Regions from separate parts of the Homo sapiens genome. Here region 2 is linked to region 1. Evidence: promoter capture Hi-C in 16 types of primary human blood cells and fetal thymus (Javierre and others, 2016). All regions are on one chromosome and are shown on one strand. The core of a region is centred on a gene start or on the middle of the fragment in contact, and the rest is flanking DNA. Distances in the headings are between cores, read along the strand shown. Region 1 holds the start of CCDC28A (coiled-coil domain containing 28A). Region 2 holds the start of TXLNB (taxilin beta).

Evidence for each region. Contacts are between HindIII fragments. The CHiCAGO score rates a contact against its expected background, and 5 or more counts as called.
Region 2: a contact is called between the fragment with the promoter of TXLNB here and the fragment with the promoter of CCDC28A in region 1, in 3 of 17 cell types (fetal thymus, naive CD8 T cells and total CD8 T cells). The highest score is 7.4, in fetal thymus.

The regions. Positions count from the first base shown.
Region 1 is chr6:138,771,649-138,776,010 of GRCh38, reverse strand. It overlaps CCDC28A (coiled-coil domain containing 28A), which reads right to left and starts at 2,242. Exons shown (of 6, transcript NM_015439.3): 1 at 2,109-2,242. CCDC28A-AS1 (CCDC28A antisense RNA 1) reads left to right here and starts at 2,308. Exons shown (of 3, transcript NR_161205.1): 1 at 2,308-2,496. RefSeq lists enhancers at 1,930-1,989, 2,350-2,409, 2,430-2,479, 1,843-2,516, 2,517-3,191. The HindIII fragment of the contact is 8,118 bases long and covers 340-4,362 here.
Region 2 is chr6:139,289,811-139,294,172 of GRCh38, reverse strand. TXLNB (taxilin beta) reads left to right here and starts at 2,175. Exons shown (of 10, transcript NM_153235.4): 1 at 2,175-2,252. The region is part of intron 4 of LOC102723690 (a long non-coding RNA gene); the gene reads right to left. RefSeq lists enhancers at 2,951-3,200, 3,401-3,460 and a silencer at 3,047-3,341. The HindIII fragment of the contact is 5,007 bases long and covers 1,975-4,362 here.

The DNA of each region.
Region 1 (4,362 bases), core at 993-3,492:
CATTTCACAGGGTCAAAAGAGGATCAAGAATTCCAGAGGGCATAAGAGAAAGTTAGAAAATGGGTCTCTTAAGTTTAATGTACTCTACTATGTACCCATAAGCCCCTAGCAAAATTGTCTGGTAGACAGTTTTTGTTTTGTTTTGTTTTACCATTTTCTTTATTTCTTCATCCTACAAATATTTACTGATTCTCTTCCACAAGCCAGACACTATTGTGGGTACTGGAGAGACGGCACTGAACAAGGTGTTTGACCTCAAGAAGCCTACATTTTACAAGGGGAACAACATATAAACAATAAACAAATGATCCACATAATATTCCCAGCCTGATTCAAGCTTCAGGTGGCCTTTAGGTCTTTCTTCCAAAATGTATGCTTAAGAAGAACCAAGTAGATTCAAACAGATGTATAATTGTCATAGGGATTTTACTAGCATTTTAAAAATCAACTAGAAGCCTTACTTCAACTACTAAACAGAAACTCAGTTTCTAGCTAGGGCTAATAATGATTCTAGCTTGGTGATAAGTGAAGTTCTAGAAAATCAAACTTGTTCGTTGCCTATTTTGAATATACTTTCTCTAACCATTTCCAAACAAACGTGAATTTTATGATATATATTTAGTTTTGCCCATATCAAAAAAGTTAACAATGTGAAGTTACAGATGGCCCTTCCATGCGGAATACGTGTAAGGCCTCCTAGTTATCCCTACACAATCCCCTTACTTTATCTATTAATCCGCTCTATTTTCTAACATCCATCTATTTAAAAAATACCCTTCCGGCCGGGCTCACGCCTGTAATCCCAGCACTTTGGAAGGCCAAGGCGGGCGGATCACGAGGTCAGGAGATCGAGACCATCCTGGCTAACACGGTGAAACCCCGTCTCTACTAAAAATACAAAAAATTAGCCGGGAGTGGTGGCGGGCGCCTGTAGTCCCAGCTACTCAGGAGGCTGAGGCAGGACAATGGCATGAACCCGGGAGGCGGAGCTTGCCCTGAGCCGAGATGGTGCCACTGCGACAGAGCGAGACTCCGTCTCAAAAACAAAACAAAACAAAACAAAACAAAACAAAAAAACCCCTTCCATACTTTATTTGTGCATAGTGTTAAATTTTTCTTAACTTCATTATTTCATATATCATAAGATGAATTTATATGGCTATCTCTACCTCATCAGGTTGTAAATTGCCTTCTAGAAACATTAGGCCGTTTTTGGCATGCTGTGTTTAATTTAGGCATGCCATGACCATTCAAAAAGATTCAAACCCATTGCTGTCGCTTAAAATAATTATTTGATGAATTCAATAAATTTTTCTTTTTCCTTTTGCCTGGACTTAGTGCCACTGGCACTGGAATTTAAACCACTGAGCTTAAATTGGCTGACGCTAGACAATTACAACTGGAGCTACAATACTGCCAAAGAAGAGGCTTTCTGGGAAAGGCTCCAATGCCCAGTCTCTAATCCCAGATACCACTGGGTGTCAATCCACTTAAACCTTGGCTAACAATTTTTCTTTTAAGAAGCATTTTTTGTAACAGAACAATAATTCTGGTGTTGTTTCAACATGCAACACAAATTAAATGAGAGTTTGAAAGATGACTGAATAGAGACGATTAGTTCTCTGAAGAGGCAAGGATCTGTAAAAATGTATGATACGCATAAACACGCTGGCCTGAAATTTAACGATGCTAATACACACTTGGTGGTACAAGAAAAAAAAATCTAGGAAGTAAAGCAATGCAAATAAACCAGTGGTGGTCTAAACCACAATATTCTGCGGAGCCAGCACTCGCGATTTCCTCGTTTTTGGAAAATTACATCTGTCACAAGAGCACTGAAACCCTTCCTGTATATCAAACAGCAAAGAATGTTTTAGAGAAGGCATAATAAGTAAACTGCTCATAGTTACTTATTCACACAGTGGTTTTAAGTGCCAGGTCTTGCCTCCAAGCAGTACCACTGGGCATCCCTCTTGACATCACCTCATTCCCCTTCCCCAATCTACCGAAGCGATGACCCTTCACCGCCCAGTACCCAGCAGTGACCAGAGTGGTGGGAAGGGCCTAAAGGGGCAGGTTGCGGAGGTTCCTTTGCTTCCACTACATACCTGAAGAAGAAGGGTATTGGGGCCCCCTTCCGCAACCCGCAAAGACCCGACAGCCTCAGAAGCCACCGCCGCAGCCACAAGCAGAGCCCCGGTCACATCCCGGGACCCGCTCCTCCGCAGCTCCGTTTGTTTACGGAAGTGACGTAAGAGGTACAGCCTCCATGCCCCAAGCGGAAGCCCCGCCTTTTCCTGCTCCCCCAGTGTCGCTCTTGGCTCCGCCCTCGGCATTTCATTGCTTCCCCTGTCCTTCCTTTAGCTGTAACTCCGGCGGGCGTGTTGGGTGTGTCGTTTTAGGCTCTGTGACCCAGGAGCAAGACGCAATAAGCGGGTGCAGTGGAGGTAGAAACGGGAAATGCAGTACCCTTTCCGGAAGCTACTCCGCCCCTCGGTGAGTGTTAGATTCCCCCCCCGAACTACAATTCCCAGAATGCTGTTCGAGCATGCCCGAAGGCGGAACCAGAGTGTCGCCATGCAACTGTTCCTTGGTTGTTTCCGATTGGTTGCCCGGACTTCTCGCGGCTAAACTAATTTTGGCTCCAAGGCGGCGTGAAGAGTGTGATTCTGTTCAGCGACCGTGATTCTGTTCAGCGACCATGATGTTGAGCCCCTAATTGAGAGTCTGTTACCACTATTAATAGCTACTCTGTTCGGGCCCTACACATAACGGTGTATCTAAACCTCTCTACAATTTTATGGGTAGGTGTTATACTCTCTGTTTTACAAATGGGGAATTTGAGGCTCAGAAAGGCTAATTGATGCAGGTGTCTCTCTGTCGTCAAAGATAGTTCTACTTCCACTATACTTAAAGCCTCTGGAGAAGGAATTGCAGGCTGAGAGAAAGAGATCTATCTTAAATGAGGGAAGAAATGCACGTTTCATTGCCTGGTCTGGGTAGCCTTCCCGGTGTTGGAGTGGGAGGTGGGAAGGTTTTAGATTCACAGGTCCTTAGATTGAAGGGACTCTGGAGGAACACCACATAGCACCCCCCGCATTAGCTAATGGGGAAACCATATCTAGAGATTGTATCCATGCCAGAAAAGGCAGAGCAAAGACAACCCCAGTCTCTTGGCTTCTAGGATAGGATGTTCTTCCGCCACCCGCCATTTAAAAAAAAAAAACAAAACTATTGAAATGTTAAAAAAAAAAAGCACAGAATAAACAACGCACCCACTATCCAGAACGAACAGATTTATGAATGAAAGAAATGGAGCATTACAGATAAAGAAGGTGTTCCCTATTCTCAGTCCCATTCTACTACCACCCTCAGAGAGGCAACCAGGATCATGAATTTGATATGTATCTTGCCAATCTAGGTTTCTATATTTAAACTATTACTATGTATTATAAACAATATGTAGAATGGTTTGGGGCATTTGAAGTTTTACATGAATGCTATTATATTTTGTGTATTGATCTGCAACTTGATTTTTTCACCAAATTCTGTGTTTTTGAGAGCTATCCACATTGATAAATATAGCTAGACTTTATCAAATAGATTTGTCACAAATTATTTGGGAATTCCCATAGTGATGGATGTTTAGGTTGTTTCCCATTTTTCACCATTACAAACACTACTGTACAGTCTGCTCAATATCTTTTCCCAGTTTCTCCTTTTAATTAATGTCGAATTGTCTTATTTGTATGAACAGAGCTTGCAACTGGTGATTCACATGCTACTTTTTTTTTTTTCAAATTGGTTGCTAACAGCTAAAATTGAAAGAATAAAAACAATGTGGCATCCCATGAATTAACGGGAAGATCTGACTACGTTAGATGTGCATTGTAGCCTGGCAACAATGGTTCAAGCTGGAAAGCATCTGCCTCCTTTACCTCAGTTCAAGTAATATCTAGTTTTTCTTTGTCTTTAGTACCCATCTGAGCCCTGTAGCATTTGTGTTTACAACCTCCAACATGATGTAGGGACACAGGAAAGTACCCTTCTAAATGGACATGTTTCAGGTATTCAGAAATAGGTATTCAGGTTTTGAATACCTATTTTAAGTCCCTATTTTAGCCACACCCTGTGATAGGAGGTCAGGATGCATCTATCAACAAAAGGTACAAGAGCTTTATAGTCAGAGATCTTATATTCCCGATATAAGAGACTGACAATAAATTAGTATGCAAATAAAATAGTTTCATTTAGTCAGATGAGAGTCCTGAAATAACAGCTTAAGGTCAAAAGTAGTTTGTACTGAAGGAGAAGTATCAGGGAAGGCCTTCCCGAAAATGCAGCTTTGAGGTAGAGATATGA
Region 2 (4,362 bases), core at 926-3,425, 520 kb before region 1:
TGAGTCGCATTTATTGATTTTGTAGGCTTTAAAATGTATACATTTTAAAATTTATGTAACTACTGTAAGCATAAGGAATTTATCCTATTTTCATTTTAGTACATGTAGGTTCAAATAATAATATAATCCTTCAAATAATTTCCACATTATTTAAATTATTCTGTTAAGTGAGTCTATACATTATTTAAATTTGAAAAGCACTGACTTGTTTATATTTACTAAGAGATGTGATCGGGTCAGTTTGCTACAATCCAGGATGGAATGCCACCCAATTTGTGGCACTCACCAAGTATTCATTAATTTAGAAGAAAGTGCTTTTCTCTTTCATCAATTTTAATTCACTAACTTAATTATCAAATAATATAGTGAACAGCTTCATTGTCTTCAACACTGGAATTTCTTTATCCTGACTTCTGCTTGTTGGGTGCACTCATCTATATATAACTTATGCCTCCCCTAAACTCAGAGAATAAGTAGGACAAAACTGGGGGTGGGATGTTTTCATTTCCTTTTGTTGCCATAACATCTTATCACAAATTTAGCAGCTTAAAAATAACATAAGTTTGCTATTTTATATTTCTGGAGGTCGGAAATCCAAAACGAATTTCTTTGATCTAAGATCAATGTCGCAGGATTGCATCCCTCTGGAGGCTCTAGAGTATAATCTGTTTCCTTGCCTTTCCCAGCTTCTAGAAGCTTCCTGACCTATGCTGAGGTCATCAAATCTCCTTTTCTGCCTCCAATCCTACTGCCTTCCTCCCTCATTTATAAAGACCCTTATGAGGCTGAGTGCAATGGCTCACGCTTATAATCCCAGCACTTTGGGAGGCCGAGGTGGGCGGATCATGAGGTCAGGAGTTCGAGACCAGCCTAGCCAACACAGCGAAACCCCGTCTCTACTAAAAATACAAAAATTAGCTGGATGTGGTGGCAGGCGCCTGTAATCCCAGCTACTTGGGAGGCTGAGGGAGGAGAATCGCTTGAACCCGGGAGGTTGCAGTGAGCTGAGATTGCACCACTGCACTCCAGCCTGAGTGACAGAGCGAGACTCTGTCTCAATAAATAAATAAATAAATACCCTTATGATTACATTGAACCCACCCAGTAGTTCAAGATAACCTCCCTACCTCAGGATCCTTCCTCACATCTGCAAAGTCTCTTTTGTCATGTAAAGAAACATATTCACAGGTTCCAGGGAGTAGGACGTGGAGATCTTTTGGGTGGCATTATTCTGCCTCCCACAAGGGATGCCACTATGCCTAGCCTGTCCCCAGAGCAGAAACCGATGGAGGAATCTGCTTTGGAAGTATGGGAACACAAGCTCCAGAAAGAAAAATAAAAGGCAAATGGATGTAAATTAATAGACAGGCATTTTATGGTGAATCAGAAGGAATTTCTTTTTCTGAGGAGGATCAAGGAGCATGTTGAGGATTTACAAAATGTGGGAAAGCCACCAACTAAGGAAGAAAAAGCAGACTGCTTCCCTGAGGGTTTGTTTGAGATGGGAAGAGTTACCTGGGAAAGACTGTGCTCCAAGGTCACACCAATTACCACGTGCATGAAGATTATACTCAGTTCAGCTCCAAAATCACCATCTACATGTTTATTTCAAACTTTGCAAACAAACCAAACAATGACATCAGAATTAAAATGGTTCCACCACCTCCCTGTTCTTATGCCATTGTTTTTCTTTTTCCATGATTCCTGTAAGAAACCTGACACTAATTAAGCTAGTGCAAGAAGAAGAAGAAAAAGAAGATGAATCTTCCACCACACTGGAGATAACCCAAGAAGTAAGAAAAACTGATCTCTACCCAAAAAGGACAACAATGGTGAAAGACTGCATTTGCAACGGGGGTAATATACTCAGAGTTTAAATTTCCGAAAGGACAAACAAAACATGGAGAGTCTAATGAGATCTTCCAGCTGCTTCTCTCTGCTAAGGTATTTCCCCTGGCAACAGCTAGGGAAGCTTGGGTGTATTTTCCCCTTGCTGTGTCATATGATGTTCCTTTCCCTACCCCCACCTCCTCCAGACTGCTGCCTCCATCAGTGCCTGTGGCGTGTGTGTGTGTGTGTGTGTGTGCGCGCGCGTGCGTGCACGTGTGTATGTGTGTGTGTGTGTATTGGGTTTCTCTCTCCCTTGTAAGAACACAGCCAGCCCGCCCTCTCCTGCTGTTGCTGCAGCTCTGACTTGCTTTTTCCTGCCTCCTTCCTCTCCTCTCTCTTCTTGCTTAGCTTCTTGCCTTCTGGTAAGTATGACAAACACTCCCCCAAGCCCTGTGAGAAGGTATAGGGTGCGGTTTGTGGTGTTCGAAACTTGCAACTTTGAGATTGCCAGTGAACTGTTGGAGAACTTTTCATTGTTGTATTTATAAATAAAATGTGTTGCTTAGGGAGGGATGTGTCTGTGATAGTCATCTGGAATAGCCAACACAAGTGAAAAGTTCTCTCCCTGGGGAGGGGAAAATAAGGCAATAAAGTTTATATAAGATAAAAGTTAGAAATAATTTCTTTGCCACATAATATAAAATGGATGATTGAAAAGTAACAAAGTTCTCTGACTTTGTTTTTTTCCCTCTTGTTAACTTGTCTTGAGGCTACTTTTGGGAATTGAATTGTCCTGGGCTTTATAATGACTGTTCTGTTTTAAAGTAAATGTGGAACAGGAGTTTAAAGAATAGCCATGGAATTAAGAATTTAAAAAATCAATGATTGTGGCATCTCATGAAGAATAAATCAAATACAAACAGCCACTTGCATTTAGACTAACCGAAGTAAAACTCCTATGGACAGCTTATCTTAAATTAATTATTTTGAAGTTCATTTTACTTGAGATTTTATTTCATCCTAAGATAGTCTCCCCGACTTTAAAACCCATGTATGGATTTAAGCCACTAAATGTTTACTGTTTTCAATTTGACTGAAAAACGATTCTCTTGATTTTCAAGGATGAAGTGCTAAACGGCATGACTCATTTTAGAATAGCTTAAAATAACTTCTGGCTGGACAGCAGGTGCCGTGTGTCTTTCTCCGTGTTCAGGGGAGGCCTAAGTTATATATAGATGAGTGCAATCAACAAGTGAGGTCAGGAAAAGAAATCCCAGTGATGAAAATAATGAAACTGCTGCATTATTTGATAATCAAGTTGGTGAATTCAAACCAGTGAAAGAAAAAAAGTACTTCCTCTAAGTTATGAGTGTTTGGTGAGCATCACAAGTCAGTGGCAACATCTGTGTGTTGAATTTTCTGTTCTTGTTGGTGTCTGAGCATTCAATTGACATCTACTGCCCTGAGAACAGGAAAAGGAAGCTGTGCAGTTGTAGAACAGTATGCTTTTGTTTTCACTTTCATGTTACCACAACAGCAAAACCTGTGAATTATGAGGATCTTGCCACATTTTTATGCTGCTATTTAGCAGCATCACTGTTAAATATTATTTACAAATAAAATGCACCATAACTTAAAGGCCTAAACCAAATCTATTGCAACTCTAGAAGTGGTAATAGTCAGAAACCCTGGAATCTCTGACTCAGTACCATCTCTCACCCTTTCCTAAGGGCCCTTATTATTGCTGAATTATTTCTCGAGTTGGTCTCCTCCTTGTTTATGAAACATTGCTACTTCTTAAAAATCATTAAGTTTTTCTAGAGCTTCCTGACTTAGAAGAGAAAGTTGTAATCTGTTTTTCTCTTTTAAAAAATTGGTTTATATATTGGAATAAAAGAGTATTATAGAAATTTAAGGAATTGTTGTTATAAGTATCATCATGCTTTTGTTTTGTTTAGTTTTTGAGACGAAGTCTTGCTCTGTCACCCAGGCTGGAGTGCAGTGGCACGATCTTGGCTCACTACAGCCTCCGCCTCCCAAGTTCAAGCAATTCTCATACCTCAGCCTCCCAAGTAGCTGGGACTACCGGTGCCCGCCACCACACCTGGCTAATTTTTGTATTTTTAGTAGAGACAGGGTTTCACCATGTTGGCCAGGCTGGTCTCCTGGCCTCAAGGATCCACCCGCCTCGGCTTCCTAAAGTGCTGGGATTACAGACATGAGCCACAGCACCTGGCCCGTGTTTCCATACTACTTTGTCTATTTATTTATACCTTCCCTCATTCCCTGTCTTAATCTAAAAATGATGCCAGTTTAAGCCTCAAAAAAAGCATTCGTGTTGCTTATCTGAAAAAGAAAATGCCAGAAAAGTGAGAAATGTCTCCTCTATCCAGTGTAATAATGCATTTACATCAAAATATTCACACTAAGCAAAATATTGATTTATGGATCAAATAGAGCTTAGAGATGTTATTCTTATGAGTTATTTAAATAAATTCAATGGCTCTTCTATTAAATATTTTAACTTTGAAA